Linked DNA regions of Homo sapiens: region 1 is linked to region 2. The links are contacts of gene promoters, found by promoter capture Hi-C in human tissues and cell types (Jung and others, 2019). All regions are on one chromosome and are shown on one strand. The core of a region is centred on a gene start or on the middle of the fragment in contact, and the rest is flanking DNA. Distances in the headings are between cores, read along the strand shown.

The links. Contacts are between HindIII fragments. The study calls those that stand out against the background at their distance.
Region 1: a fragment that was not itself captured here is called in contact with the fragment with the promoter of CLDN15 in region 2 in 2 of the 25 tissues and cell types used here (mesenchymal stem cells and small bowel).

The regions. Positions count from the first base shown.
Region 1 is chr7:101,746,199-101,749,023 of GRCh38, reverse strand. No RefSeq gene overlaps it. Among named protein-coding and RNA genes, the nearest start is that of CUX1, 70 kb to the left of the region's middle. The HindIII fragment of the contact is 5,608 bases long and covers 1-2,825 here.
Region 2 is chr7:101,236,452-101,239,260 of GRCh38, reverse strand. It overlaps CLDN15 (claudin 15), which reads left to right and starts at 1,459. Exons shown (of 5, transcript NM_014343.3): 1 at 1,459-1,896. The coding sequence starts at 1,680. The HindIII fragment of the contact is 32,734 bases long and covers 1-2,809 here.

The sequences.
Region 1 (2,825 bases), core at 225-2,724, 510 kb before region 2:
TCTTCTGCCTCAGCCTCCCGAGTAGCTGGGACTGCAGGCACCCGCCACCACACCCAGCTAATATTTTTTTGTATTTTTAGTAGAGACAGGGTTTCATCATGTTAGCCAGGATGGTCTTGATCTCCTGACCTCGTGATCCACCCACCTCGGCCTCCCAAAGTGCTGGGATTACAGGCATGAGCCACTGTGCCCAGCCCCCCATCTCTATTAAATATACAAAAAAAAAAAAAAAAAAAAATAGCCAGGCATGGTGGTGGGCACCTGTAATCCCAGCTACTTGGGAGGCTGAGGAGGAGAATCGCTCGAACCCGGGAGGCGGATGTTGCAGTGAGCTGAGATCGCGAGACTGCACTCCAGCCTGGGCAACAAGAGCAAAAATCCGTTTCAAAAAAAAAAAAAAAAAAAAAAAAAACCAATTCCTTGCTATGGCTTTCCAGAGTCAGGGTGAAGTTCCAGAGACCCAGGCACCTGGGCTGGAACCCCAGCCGTGCCAGGTACCCCTGGTGATCTAGGGCACATCCATTTGCCCTCCCCCCACCCGAGCCTCAGTTTCCCCATCTGTAAAGCAAAGGCAATGCATTCCTTCACTTTCTAGTTCTCAGGGGTTGCTGTGGGTGGTGAGACAGGGCCCACGAAGGTTTGCGGTGCGGGGTGGGACGCAGTAGGACCCTCATGGGGTGACTGGTGAGTACAATTGGCCATCCTTTCTCTCCAGCCTCCGTGGGGAGGTCGCCTTGACTCGCAGACTTGGCTTTGCTCCATCTGTGCACGGCTCTCTTCCCTGGAGCCTGAGTGGAATGTTTTCTCTTCCCTCCTCCTCCTCCTCCTCCTCCTCTTCCTGTGACCGTCTGTGGGATGCCTCCAGTGTCCTGGGGTCCCCCGGAGGCGGCCCGAACCCTCTCCCCGCCCAGCGCGGCCCCTCGGCCCACCAGGCTGTTTCCAATTTGAACACCATGCATCTTGTCTCTGAGATCACAGCCGCCTCTTTGATGGAACTAATGATGATCTAGGACTTTGGGGGCCCCAGACCTCCCCAAACTGAGATAAATCCTGCCTCTGTGCAGACAAGGGGCCTCCAGCCCGGCATCTGATCCCCCTCCTCCGGGCTGGACAGGGAGGGGAGGTGTCTGTGGGAGTCCCCTCCCGGCAGGCTGGGAGGGTGGTGGCTGAGTCCAGGGAGACAGGAAGAAAGGGATTTCTCTGAGGCTCCAAAGAGGGTCCCACAACCCGGTGGGGGAGGGTGGCAAGCTTGTGAAAGGGCCTCTTAGAAGGCGGTCTGATCCCATCACAACCCAGGACACAGCTGGAGCAGAAGGCAACTTACACAGGCCAGCCTGCTTCTCAGACTCAGTGCCACTAACTGTTCCTGGCACCTTGCTTGCACCGCTGGGGACGCAGGGAGGAATGACTCTAGTTTCTGCCGCCAGGAGCTCGTGATGAGGGAGAGGGATGGGTAAACCAATGACTCCAATATTGCGTATTGAGGACTGCAATGGTGAGGACCCCAGGGGCTGTGGGAGCACGGCAGATAGGACCTGACGCAGCCTGTAGAGCCTGGAAGGCTTCCTGGAGGAGGTAGCCCTGATCTGGGTCTTGCGCAGGTCCCACAATGAGCAGATGATGTGCCCTGTCCATACAGAATAAACAATAAAAAATGATACTAAACCCTATCAAGCTTGCCCAACCTGCCTTGTTTGGCTGTTGTTGTTCTGTTCTGTTTTAGGCTTTTAGCAGCCTGAAACCATGGTTTTTAGTTTCTGTCTCTAGTGACAAGCGGAAAAGAGGGATGAGGAAGGGGATTTACTGACCCAACCAGAAACAGAAACTAAGAGCCTGTGACTGTATTCTCTCCCTTGGACACCCCTGAAACCATGAAACTTACACATATGCTGAAATTAAAATACCTTCTTTCTAGATTTTCTGATCGGAAAATTTTGGATCCGTTCATCAAAGAAGCTTTATTTTATTATTATTATTATTAATTTTTGAGACTGAATCATGGTCTGTTGCACAGGCTGGAGTGCAGTGGTACGATCTCAGCTCACTGCAACCTCTGCTTCCCAGGTTCAAGTGATTCTCCTGCCTCAAGCTCCCGAGTGGCTGGGATTACAGGTGCCCGCCACCAGGCCTGGCTAATTTTTGTATTTTTAGTAGAGACAGGGTTTTACCACGTTGGCCATGCTGGTCTCGAATTCCTGACCTCAGGTGATCTGCCCTCCTCAGCCTCCCAAAGTGCTGGGATGACAGGCATGAGCCACCACACCCAGTCTATTATTATTAATATTTAGAGATGGGATCTCTGTCAACCAGGCTGGAGTGCAGCAGTGTGTGATCATAGCTCACTGCAGCCTCGAACTCCTGGCCTTAAGCGATCCTCCTGCTTCAGCCTCCCAAAGTGCTGGGATTTTAGGTGCATGCCACCATGCACTTAGCCCATTTTAAGTTTTTAAAGAAATGTGAGTTGGACTCTGGTGAGCAGCAGAAGGTGGAGGAAGAGGAAGTGAAAGGTGAAGGAGGCAGAGGAGGAGCATTGAGTGCTGGGAAGGAGGAGGCACTGGCTGGGGGCTTGCCCTGTCTAAGGAGGGGCGTCCTCCAGGAAAATCAGACTGTTCTGTCATTCATGATCTGTCCTCCAACCTCTAGGAGCATCGCCCCCACCCCTTCCATAGCCGGGGGCCTGGCTCAGAAGCACAAGGTGCTCAGAGATACCAGTGAACCCCAGGGTAACAGTCGGAGTGGGCTTCCTGGAAGGGTCTGGAAGGACACTGACTTATCACCTCATAGCGGCTCCTCACTCTTCACAAGATAAAACTAGACTTTAGAGG
Region 2 (2,809 bases), core at 210-2,709:
GCTTCCTCCTCCCCACCCTCCCCTCCCTTTGTCTTCCTGTGGCCTCCCCTTCCTCCTACCTCCTCCTCTGGGGGAGGGGGAGCCCAGTAGGGGAAGGAATCCTGCATCTGGCATGGAGTAGGCGGGGGTCCCGGGAGAGGTCAGAGCCCAGGGAGCCCCAGCTCTCGCCTGTGGGCTGGAAGGTCAGGACTCAGCCCCACCTAGCCAGCTTCGCCCCCTCGTGCCAGGCTCGGCATGGGCCTGTTTTGCTTCACCGCATACCTCTCGTTCCACAGCCCAGGCCAGCACAGGAGTAGGGAGGAGACACCTGAGGGGAGGCCGGAGAAGCCCAGCAGGGCCGTGGGGCCAGGGAGGTGCGCAGCCAGCGCTGATGGCCCCCAGGGACAGAGCCCTAGGGAACCGGAGCAGGAGATGAGAGTGTCTGCTCTGGGACAGGTGCTCTGCACTGGCTCGGGATGGGGACCAGAGGCTGCTAATCCATCATCATTAACGAATAGAGTGGGTGACAGTCCCTGATAACTGGGAACAGGTTGCAGAGCTTAGCCACAGGATCACGCTCCAGGCTGTTGGCCAGCAGGACCAGGCTCGATGCTGAGTCAAAGATCAACTTAGGAGGAAATTTGAGTTTTGGGTGAGAGCGACTCCCTGGTGGCCTCAGCCCTGTGACACTCACATCCAGGACAGTTCCCGGTGCCAAGCGCTGGTTATGTGTGGGGGGCTTGACTCCCTGGTCCCAACGAGGTCTCAGTGTGTTGCCCAGGCTGGTCTTGAACTCCTGAGTTCAAGCAATCGTCTCAGCCCAGCCTCCCAAAGTGGTAGGATTACAGGCGAGAGCCACTGCGCCCGGCCCCTGGTCCCAGTTCTCACCACAGCCCCTGCAGTAAGCAGTCGGGTATGTCACTGACAGAGCAGAAGCTCAGGGGACTAAAACTCCCCGCCTGAGTTCCCTGGTGAATGGATGGTGGGGCCGAGTTCCATTCCAGGCTGGATGGAGCCCAGAGCTGTGGGTCTCCTACCCTCCCATCCCCTCATTCCAGCTTGATCTTCCTTAAGAGACTCATACGCCCCAACCCCTTGGTCTGAGTATCTTAGATTGTTCTCGTGGTTCCTCCGTCCTTCACCACTGAAGGCTGCTGTTCATTCTCTCTCCGTCTCTGTCCCTTATTGCTCTCACGTCTGTCTCTGTCATCTTTTCACTCCTTGTCCCTCTTACTCCGTTCTTTGGCCCCCAATGAAAGCTGAGTCAGAGACAGACGCTTCCCCTCAGTTCCCAGTGCCTCCCTTGGGGGCCCCTCCTTGGCTGTATCCGTCAGTGGCTCCAGGGTAAGTCTGCCCCCCCCACCCTCGTGGGGCGGGGAGCCCGGGGCAGCCCAGAGGCTGGGGGGAGGGGGTGGACTTTTGGCCCGTTTCGGTTATTCCCTCCATCTCGTCAACAGCTGCCGCGCGCAGGCTTAGCTCATTCCTCTGACCTGCCAGGAAGCAGAGAGACCCACAGAGCAGGAGGGAGGCAGAAAGTGGAGACGGACCTGAGCCCGAGGAAGAGGCAGGCAGAGGCTGAGGCTGATTCCACCCCAGCCTGCCTGGACAACCCTCCTTAGCCGCAGCCCCTTCCAGTTCCCTAGGGGTTCTGCCCCTCCCCCTCTCTGGGGCACCAGCCCCCCAGGGTCCTGCATCCCACCATGTCGATGGCTGTGGAAACCTTTGGCTTCTTCATGGCAACTGTGGGGCTGCTGATGCTGGGGGTGACTCTGCCAAACAGCTACTGGCGAGTGTCCACTGTGCACGGGAACGTCATCACCACCAACACCATCTTCGAGAACCTCTGGTTTAGCTGTGCCACCGACTCCCTGGGCGTCTACAACTGCTGGGAGTTCCCGTCCATGCTGGCCCTCTCTGGTATGGGGTGGGGAGCGCTCCAGGGAGAGAGGGCGGCGGGGAAGCTGCAGAGACCCCAGGGGAGGGCGGGTACTTCCGTGAGGATGCAGGGAGCCCTGAATTAAGCTCTGCGGGTCTGAGTTCCCGCAGCCAGGAGTGCTGGGGGCGGCCCATGCCTAGAACTGGAGTGAAGACCTTGCCACACGTGGCCCCCTGCGCTAGTGTGGCGCTTTTAGCTGTTACAGGTGCAGGCACCAGAATCAGACCCCCTTTCCCAGCCCTGTGCTGTGGGCAAATGATGAAACCAGCTTCATCTCCCACCTGTAGGGTTAGGGTGAGAGTCCCAGTTCACAGGTGACTGAGAAAGTGCAGAATGTTAGCGTGATGTTAACACACATAGGCACTCAGTACGGTTGAGCATGTTTTGGGGGTGGGATTGCTGGGGTGGGCAGGGGGAGGAGGCCCCATCTTGGATTCTTAGAGGTTGATCAACTTCCAGGCTCCACAGACTCCCCAGCCTCACTGTCGGGGGGCACTGGTCTCCTTGTCCGGCTGATGTCTATAAAGGGCCCCTGTGAAGGGAGGCGTCTTGCAAGTTGCAGGTTGAGCGTCCGCTGTAAGGAGGCGGTGTGTGTGCAGGTGTGTGGGGCTTCCAGGACAGTGTCTTTCTGGGGTCTTAGAGGGCTGGAGCCAACAGCTCTTTGGGCCCAGGGCAGTTCTTTCTGTGGCTGCGGCACCTTCCCGCTCCCTGCTCCCCGCTAAGATGAGGCCGCCCCATTGTTTCTCCGGGGCAGTCTCCCTTCCGTCTGCCCTATGCCAGAGACTGAGCGCTGGCGACCGTGAACTGTGTGTGGTGCCGCTGCACGCCCTCCTGGGTCCTTCAGGGCCAGTCCACTCACCAGGCACCGTGTGGCAGGGAAGGAGCCGAGGGCGA